Regions from separate parts of the Homo sapiens genome. Here region 2 is linked to region 1. The links are contacts of gene promoters, found by promoter capture Hi-C in blood cells and fetal thymus (Javierre and others, 2016). All regions are on one chromosome and are shown on one strand. The core of a region is centred on a gene start or on the middle of the fragment in contact, and the rest is flanking DNA. Distances in the headings are between cores, read along the strand shown.

Evidence for each region. Contacts are between HindIII fragments. The CHiCAGO score rates a contact against its expected background, and 5 or more counts as called.
Region 2: a fragment that was not itself captured here is called in contact with the fragment with the promoter of LSM7 in region 1 in 1 of 17 cell types (monocytes); the score reaches 5.3 in monocytes.

The regions. Positions count from the first base shown.
Region 1 is chr19:2,325,986-2,330,714 of GRCh38, reverse strand. LSM7 (LSM7 homolog, U6 small nuclear RNA and mRNA degradation associated) reads left to right here and starts at 2,129. Exons shown (of 4, transcript NM_016199.3): 1 at 2,129-2,154; 2 at 2,238-2,328. The coding sequence starts at 2,149. SPPL2B (signal peptide peptidase like 2B) reads right to left here and starts at 2,031. Exons shown (of 15, transcript NM_152988.3): 1 at 1,940-2,031. The coding sequence starts at 2,005. RefSeq lists silencers at 1,745-2,004, 3,025-3,124 and enhancers at 2,215-2,264, 2,275-2,324, 1,760-2,414, 2,695-2,754. The HindIII fragment of the contact is 4,029 bases long and covers 797-4,729 here.
Region 2 is chr19:2,189,046-2,193,774 of GRCh38, reverse strand. DOT1L (DOT1 like histone lysine methyltransferase) reads right to left here. Exons shown (of 28, transcript NM_032482.3): 4 at 3,980-4,043; 5 at 2,535-2,763; 6 at 1-86. Among named protein-coding and RNA genes, the nearest start is that of DOT1L-AS1, 24 kb to the left of the region's middle. The HindIII fragment of the contact is 8,550 bases long and covers 1-4,729 here.

The DNA of each region.
Region 1 (4,729 bases), core at 880-3,379:
TCACTCTCTGCCTGGGGCCACTCGCACCACTGCCCCCTCCTCTGTGCCCCTGCTCCAGCAACCCTCCACGGCCCACCCCCCGGGCCTCCTTGGTGGTGACATCTTTCAGGGTGTAAACCCTTCCTTCCAGCATTATTCCACCCTACACTCCAGCCACAGCCCACCCCTTGCCAACCCCAAATAACCTGCCAGCTCTCACACCTCCCAGCCCCCGCTTATGCTGCTTCTGGTGCTTCCAACACCCTTCCCCTCCTGCCGACCCGGCAAACTCCTACTCATCATTCAGAACACCTGCCTCGGGGCCGGGCACGGTGGCTCACGCCTGTCATCCCAGCACTTTGGGTGGCCGAAGCAGGTGGATCACCTGAGGTCTGAAGTTCGAGACCAGCCTGACCAACATGGTGAAACCTCGTCTCTACTAAAAAAAAAAAAAAAAAAATTTAGCCAGGAGTGGTGGCATGCACCTGTAATCCCAGCTATTCGGGAGGCTGAGGTGGGAGAATTGCTTGAACCGGGAGGCAGAGGTTGCAGTGAGCCTAGATCATGCCACTGCACTCCAGCCTGGGCGACAGAGCGAGACTCCGTCTCAAAAAAAAAAAATAGATCTGCTTCGGAAAAGCCTTCCCAGGCAAACTGAGTCCCTCTCTCCACAGAGTTCTGTGATCTTTCTTCCACCTCTGGCTTTCCCCCTCCTTCCAAATGTCTGGGGAGCTCTAGGTGCCTGGCTGCAGAATGGGGGGAGTCCAAAGGGGGCTGACAGAGCAGCTGGGGGTAGGACTGGGGTTCTCAGAAAGCTTCCGAGGGGGCCCGACAGCCTTGCAGAGACCAGGGGCATCTCAGGGTAAGAGAAAAGACTAGAGAGTGAAGCGACTGCAATGAGCTGCAGGCTTCCCCAGCAGCCAGGTCACAACTGGACGGCGCACTCATCTGGATGCGACACGGTCTGACATACTTTGAAAGGGTCACCCCTGCTGTGTCGAGGATGGACTGGGGATGTGGTGGACAAAGGCAGCCACAGCAGAGGGATAGCGGTGGGGCTGGAGGAGTGGAGACTGAGGAGCCAGGTGGCGGCGACGCCTTAAGAGTGAGAACTCTGAGGGGGTAGTGAAGGTTAAGGGCTGCATTTGTGGGGCTGCTCCAGGTTCCATTGCCTGAGCCACCGAACTCAGGAGAGAGGGAAGATTTGGAATTAAGAAAATAAAAGATGCAGTTATGACAGTGCGATCTCGTAGACTGTCCCCACTAGAACCTGACACTCTTTACATCAAATGACACACAATGAACATAATGAAGGCCTGTTGGCCCTGGGCGCTGGTCACCCTGGACAGAACCTCCAGAATCCACACCATAGTCGGTCCTCCTTCTGCACACGAATTCCATCGTCCAAGGTCACGGAGTAAAAGATGGAGCGGGGATCCGACCCCAGTGCAGGGCTGGACTCCTGGCCGCTCCAGGATGCTGCCAGTTACTGGGGGACGCGCGGGACGCCTCTGGGTTCCCCCACCGCACCCCCTAGGGTGAGGTTAGCTTAGCACCGTGCCCGTTCCGCCTAAGGGGAAACTGAGGCTCGGAGAGGGGTGGGCAGCCGCCTGCTCAAGGCCACAGAGCCGGAGAGAGGCGTCCCCGGCGGCAACTGGAGACCCCGAAACGGAGAAGCAGAACCGGAGGATGGAGGGGGCACAAATTTCAGACCCGGTGGGAAGTGAGTGGCGCTGCAGCGGCGGAGGGCCTCCGAGGCGGGGAAAGGAGAGGAGCCGGGGACAGACCCGCAAGGTCACGGCCGAGCCCCGGCACCGCCGGCCGACAACGCGGGGACGGCGGATCCCCGAGGCTGGACCCCCAAGACGGGCCGAGCGGGGTCGTTCCTGCGCGTAGCCCGGGGACAGAGAGGCCGAAGGGCCGCAGCCCGCGGTGCCGTCGGGACCGGTGCCGCGCTCACCTGGGCCGCGAGGAGCAGAAAGGCCGCCAAAAGCCGCGCCAGCGCAGCCGCCACCGCTGCCGCCATGTCGGCCGGTGCCCGCCGCAACCAACGGCAGATGTTTCCCAGCAACGCCCCGAGACCCCGGGCCACGCATGCGCCGCGCATGCGCGTGGGGGAGGTCAAAGGGCGCGGGGCGGTGCCTGCGAAGAGCCACACGGCGCGACAAGATGGCGGTGAGCGCGCGGCGGAATCTGGAGCCGGGGGGCGTGGAGCTCGGGCCGCGCTCCAGGTCTCATGCGCTCTGCTTTCCCCGCAGGATAAGGAGAAGAAGAAAAAGGAGAGCATCTTGGACTTGTCCAAGTACATCGACAAGACGATCCGGGTAAAGTTCCAGGGAGGCCGCGAAGGTGAGGAGGCTCCCGCTGTCGGTACCCCCTCTTTAAAAATTTCAAATAAACCCAGCAACAGAGATGATGAGGACGCATGCGGAAGCACCTCTTTTATTTATTTTCATTATTTTTTTTGAGACGCAGTCTCGCTCTGTCACCCGGGCTGGAGTGCAGTGGTGCGATCTCAGCTCACTGCAACCTCCGCCTCCCAGGTTCAAGTGATTCTTGTGCCTCAGCCTCCCGAGTAGCTGGAATTAATGTGTACCACCACGCCCGGCTAATATTTGTATTTTTAGTAGAGAGGCCATGTTGGCCAGGATGGTCTCAAACTCCTGGCCTCAAGCGATCTGCCTGCCTCAGCCCCCTAAATTGCTGGGATTTCAGGCATGAGCCACCATGCCCAGCCTAGCATTTTTGACTGGGCAAGTGAGCTGCCTTCTCCTAGCCTCCGTTTCCTCATTTGTCAAATGGGGCTGGTAACTCCACCCACTTCACAGGGGGTGGTGAGAATGAATGGTTACAGGCATGTAATGTAATTGAGGCAGCTCTCAGCAGGAAGTAAGCAGTCAGACAACACGTCACTTATTCAATAGCCTCTTGGATCTTTGGTTTCTTTTTTTTGTAAGACGGGGACCCAAACCTCTTTGTCCCTGGATTGTAGACAACTGGGTGGCATGAGAGTTATTAAAAATCACAGTGCCCCAGCCGGACGGGGCGGCTCACGTGTGTAATCCCAGCAATTTGGGAGTCTGAAGCAGGAGGGTGGCTTCACCCTAGGGTTTGAGGCTGCAGTGAGCTATGACCGCACCACTGCACTCCAGCCTGGGCCACAGAGCAAGGCCCAGTCTCAAAAGAGAAAAAGGAGGCCAGGCACAGTGGCTCATGCCTTTAATCTTGACACTTTGGGAGGCCGAGGCAGGCAGATCAGGAGGTCAGGAGATCAAGACCATCCTGGCCTACGTGGTGAAACCCTGTCTCTACTAAAATACAAAAAGTTAGCTGGGCATGGTGGCGCACGCTTGTAGTCCCAGCTACTCGGGGGGCTGAGGCAGGAGAATTGCTTGAACCCCAGAGGCGAGATTGTGCCACCGCACTCCAGCCTGGCGATAGGGCAAGACTCCGTCTCAAAACAAAAAGAAAAAGGAATATGAATAAAATGTTTTCTCAGTCTACACCATGCTGACTCCGGACATGGAAGGACATGAGTGAGCGGCCGCTCTTGCTGGTCACACTGCTTCCCTTTGTTTTCTGCCCTTCATAGCAAATCACCCATTTAGCAGCTGAAACAGCACCATTTTATTATCTCACAGGATCTGTGAGTCAGGAGCCAGGGTACCACAGCCTCAAGGGCTCTCAGGAGGTTGTAACTGAGGGTTGTTTTTTGGGGTCCATCATCTTGGGGTCTTCTTCTGAGCCCACTGGTTATTGACAGAGCTCAGTGCCTTACCTTTGCAGGGCCAGGGTCCCCGTTCTGGCCAGTGTTGGCTAGGGACACTTGCAGCTCCCGGACGCTGCCAGCTCGGGACTCTGTTCCACCGTGGTGGTCTGCCCCTACAGTGCTGCAGGCTGAGCTGACATTTGTCCATATTCAGTTATTCGGGCCAGTGGGAGAATCATCTTTCAGAAAGGGTTTGGGGCCGGGTGCGGGGGCTCACGCCTTAATCCCAGCAGTCTGGGAGGCTAAGGCAGGTGGATCACCTGAGGTCAGGAGTTCGAGACCAGCCTGGCCAACATGGCGAAACCCCATCTCTACTAAAAGTACAACAATTAACTGGGCGCTGTGGCTCACGCCTGTAATCCCAGCACTTTGGGAGGCTGAGGCGGGCAGATCACTTGAGTTCAGGAGTTTGAGACCAGCCTGGCCTACATGGCAAGGCCCCATCTCTACTAAAAATACAAAAATTATTTGGGCATGGTGGCGCATGCCTGTAGTCCCAGCTACTTGGGAGGCTGAGGCAGGAGAATCGCCCTGGAGGCAGAGGTTGCAGTGAGCTGAGATCGCGCCACTGCATTCCAGCCTGGGCGACAGAGCAAGACTCCATCTCAAACACACACACACACACACACACACACACACACACACACACACACAAAAAGCAGAAAGGGTTTGGTCCCTGAAGGGCTCACCTGATGCAGTCAGGCCCACCCAGGGTGTTTCTCTCTTGATTGGCTCAGTCAGCTGATTCAGGGGCTCTAATTACAGCTGCAAAGTTCCTTGTCTTTGCCACATAACCTAAGCGCAGGAGTGACATCTTGTCCCGTCAGAGTCACAGGCCCTAGCCCACACTCCAGAGGAGGGGCACCTTGGCTCCATGTTAGAGACCTACCTACCTCAGTGCTCACATCTCTCCCCGTGAGGAGGGCGGGCTCACTGGTCAGGCTGGTGCCAAGGACCTGAACATCTGCATCTGACCCCATC
Region 2 (4,729 bases), core at 1,159-3,658, 140 kb after region 1:
CTTGGCCGGGATGTCTGCTTTCTCGACGCCATAGTGATGTTTGCAGTTGGTGGCAGCAGCAACCTGGAGCACGACCTGGCCCACACCTATGATCAGAGAGATCCATCAGATACCACACAGCGCTCAGATGCCACCCGGGAGGCCGTGCTAGGCTCGGAGACAGAGGCCACAAGAATGCGGCCATGAAGACCCACAGGGGAGGCCACAGTCTCCACACATATCCGATGCTCCAAGGTCACTCAGGATCCTTCCCAGAGACCAGGCCCCTGACAGAGCCCCCACGAGGGGACGGTCATCACAACGCGTCATCCATGGACATCACTTGGTGGCCCCCGAAACCAGAATCCATTTTGAGTCTCAGGGCCCTATGTGATGTTCACTGTTCAGACAGACAGGGCTGCCCAAGACTTTGCAGGTCTGGAAAGGCTGCCGTCCACCTCAAATTATCCCCACGTCACCAGCACACAGACACACAGCAACCTGGCTGATAAAATCTTATGGCACCCCAGGAAGGCTCATGAGCAGGATCTGACTGAGGCTCAATGTAGGGTGGGAGAGGCAGTGAGGGGTCCCCCGCAGCCAGGACAGTCTCCCGGCCGCTGCGGTTTCACAGCATCAGCACACAACCCAGCAACACCCGGCTCTAAGGGAGAAGGAGGGAACAGGGGCTGCAGATACGCCAGCGTCAGGAGGGTGGAGGCAGCGGCGCACACCGGGGGTGTCAAGCCACCTCTCCTCCCCTGCTAGGCAGCTCTGTGCTCCAGGGAACGGGCATGAACCATGGAGCGACCACAATGGGCACAGACCGCCGCCACCACACCAGTGGGAAGAGAAGCACACAGGGACGGGGGGCCAGGGCCCGGCCAGCAAGTGCTAGGCCGTCATCATCTAAAACATATAAGCCTTTTTAATTTTTTGTTTTTGAGACAGGGTCTGATTCTGTCACCCAGGCTGGACTGCAGTGGTGTGATCCTGGCTCACTGCAGCCTCAACCTCTTGGGCTCAAGCGATCCTCCCACCTCAGCCTTCCAAAGCATTGGGATTACAGGCAGGAGCCAAAGAGCCCAGCCAGATATGCCCCATTTTTTTTTTTTTTTTTTTTGAGACGGAGTCTCACTCTGTCACCCAGGCCGGAGTGCCGTGATGCGATCTCGTCTCACCACAACCTCCGCCTTCAAAGTTCAAGCAATTCCCCTGCCTCAGCCTCCCAAGTAGCTGGGATTACAGGCGCGCGCCACCACACCCAACTGATTTTTGTACTTTTAGTAGAGGGAAAGTTTCACCATGTTGGCCAGGCTGGTCTCGAACTCCTGACCTCAGGAGCTCAGATCCGCCTGCTTTGGCCTCCCAAAGTGCTGGGATTACAGGCGTGAGCCACCACGTCCAGACGATACACATTCTTTTTATTGCATTTTTTAAATTTGAAAATAAATTTAAATAAATAAACAGAAGTGGGATCTTGCTATGCTGACCAGCCTGGTCTTGAACTCCTAGCCTCAAGTGACCCTCCCATCTCAGCCTTCCAAGTGCTAAGATGACAGGCGTGAGCTGCCACACCCAGTCTGTGCAAAGTCCTCTTGGTCCCTGCCCCTGGGGCCCCTTCCCCACGTCAAAGCCAGGACTGTGGAAAGGGGGCAGACGTGGGGCTCGCGTGCCTGCAGGCACAAGGTTCACATGTCCATCGAGGTCCAAGGAGCCCAGGGACAGCCTAGACACTGTGGAGAAGGGGCCTTCACTGTCTGACCCTTGGGTGGCCCCGTCAGCCCTGCAGCCTGGATGGGGTGGTCCTATCAAGAATTCGTCAGGCTACTGAGGCTGTTCGTGTACGGGCCGCTCATCTGTGCTTCAGCCAGGCCACGCTGCTGCTGAAGACACACCTAGGGCCTCGTTTCAAGGAGCCCCGCCCGTGGTTGAGAGGAGACGACACCTCACAAGCAGAGTCTGAGTGCAGGCAGAGGCTGAAAGAATGCCAGCAGGTGGGAGCCCCAACCTGGGAGGGGCAGGGCACGGCCCAGACGCAGGGGTGCCGAGGGAGACTGGGGATGCAGGGAGGGCGCGAGGGCCTCCGGGAGCCCAGGGACCTGGGGTCTTCCTCCGCGGGGGACCTTTCCAGCCGCTGTGGAGGGAGCAGGTGTGCCCAGGGAAGGACTGCGGCAGGCTGCAGCCGTGGGTGGGGCCCGGGCTGGGGCCCAGGCTAGCGAGTGGCAGCTTCTGGGAGCGAGCAGTAGAGGGTGCACAGGTCTAGCTCCCCAGCTGGTGGGAAGCAGGACGAAAGCAGAGTCTCCGGGCACCTGGGAGGATGGGCCTGGTCTGGGAGCCACTGGGTTCCTGCGATTTCTCCCCTCTGGGTGGAGCCCGGTCAGGGCTGGGGAAAGGAACGGCCCCACAGCGGGACAGAGGCGCTGGGAGAAGGAAGCACTGTCCACGCCAACGTCGCAAGTCCCTGATAAACTCTTCTCCAAGCAGGCATGGGGCAGGCACAGAGCGTGTGGCCTGGAAGTGCACAGGAGCCGGGCATGGCGGGCGACACTCACCGCTCCCCAAGTCCACAAACAGGTCGTCGTCGGTCATCTTGATCTCATCAATCATCTGGGCCACCAGGTCGAAGGAGGTCTCCCCGTACACCTCGGGGGAGAAGGGCTCGTAGTTGTTGAGCTTCTCGGGGTCGGTCACCGAGTGGTTGTAGACCTGCTGCAGGATATGGCGCAGGAGTCCAGTGGACGGCCGCGTGTTCAGCTTCATGGGCTGCGTGGTGCCCTTCCACTGCGGACGGAGGGTGGCCCGGCCATGTCACATAAACCTCACGGCCCAGCCCCTCCACCACCAAGACCCGGGACCTTTCCCAGCGGAAGCAGGGAGTCGGCTGCATGGCCTCTCGTCCCCCTGCAGGGTGGCTGCCGGGCTCCCAGGTCAGTTTCCAACCCAGCCCCATTTCCTACAAGCAGTAAAGCAGCATCCCCAGGGACAGGCCCCAACTCAGAGGGGTCCTAGGAGGCTCCACCTCCTGCCACGGGCCTCTCTCCCCACTGGCAAGACCACCAAAACCACACAGGCCACCAAGACCACCACCCCTCCTCTGGGCCAAGGCAGCAGGGTGGGGCGCTGACACCAAGGGACCCCCGTCAGGTGCCACGAGCCCCGTGAAAGCCCTGAGCCTACCACACCTCATCTGACTCGACTACGTGGGACCCCGCCTTCCTCCCCACCAGCTGCAGCAGGCTGAGGTGGTCCCCTCTCGCCCAGGCCAGCTCAGCTCTCAGGGGCCCACAGAGCTGCATGCATGAGGTTGAGGGGAAGCCAGAGCCGGGTGGCAGGCTGATGGGGCAGCCCAGCCCAGCCCAGTCCCACTCAGGAGGGCCAAGTGAGCCCATGCCACCCCCACCAGGGCTCCCTCCACAGCAAGACCTTCAAGAAAGAGCTCCCCTACCCCCATGCACCAGGGGCCCCCGGTGCTTTCTAGAACATGGGAAGCAGCACGTTCCCCTCCCTGCTACACCCCAGCTCACTGTGTGCCCCGTCCTCTGTGAGGAAAGCCTCACGAGACACAGCAGGACCGGGGTGCCCAAGGGTGCAGCCCAGGCCGGCATCCAGCCTGATGAAGGCAGGCGGTGTGGGGGAGGTCCAAGGGGGAAGGCCGGCATTCACACAGCCCGGGGAGGACAGGGACCCCGCCTCTGCTGGGACCTGCGGACACCAACCCAGGGCTGCAGAGGCGTGTGCAGACACCACAACCCTCAGGGCCCTGCCTCAGCACACAAACCACGGACGGCTCTGCTTTGGCACACGGCCACAGCACACAGCCCAGCCTCGGCAGCCCCCACACCACTCACCCACAGCCCATCGTCCCCCCACGCTGCACATTCCAATCCCCAGGGGCTCTAAGGGGAGCTCTGTGCCCCGAGGCGGTGACATAAGGGGTCTGGAGGGGTCCGGGAGCCTGGCACTACTAACCCCCTCTGGGCAGGGGCAAGCCACCTACCAGCTGGTGGATGCTGTCGATGGCACGGTTGTACTTGTCGCAGAGCCTCTGCATGCTCTCGAAGCTGAAAAAGGCAAGGGAAGGCCCTGGTCATGCGGGCAGGAGCCAGCCGCATGCATGGGAGGGGACAGCATGTGGATAAGGCAGGCTCCAAGGTGTGGTCCCTGCCTGGACAGCCACCAGCCAGCTGGCCAAGACCCTTCTGGCAGAAGCCTCGCTTTCCGCCCTGATGCAGGAGATTTCAGGTTTGACACACAAGCGAGGTGGCCGGCCGAGAGTCCGGTGCAGGGAAGCACTGAGCCCTGAGGCAGTCTGGACCTGCCCAGGCTCCCGCGCAAAGCCGAGGTCCACGTGTGCTGGAGGCGTGAGGAGAGAAAGAGGGCTCGAGGGGGACTGAGGCCAGCCCCCCAAGTGGGAAACCCTGGGGCCGGCCTTAGAGGGTCTTCCTTGCCCTGGCTGGGGACAGCCACCATCGCCAGAGGCAGGTGAACGGCTGGGGTCTCCCAGGGACCACCAGGCCTCTGCCCGGGCAGGTGCAGGAGGAGTGAGCACTGCAGAAAGGAAGATGCCTCACCCCCACCCACACTGCTCTGTGAGCGTGTCCTTCCAAAGCTCCAACTCATTCACACGTCAGCAGTGTGTCATGTCAGCAGTGTGTCACGTCAGCAGTGTGTCACGTCAGCAGTGTGTCATGTCAGACACGGCACAGCAGGGTCCACAGTGAGACTCAGTCCCCCCGCAGCAACTCTG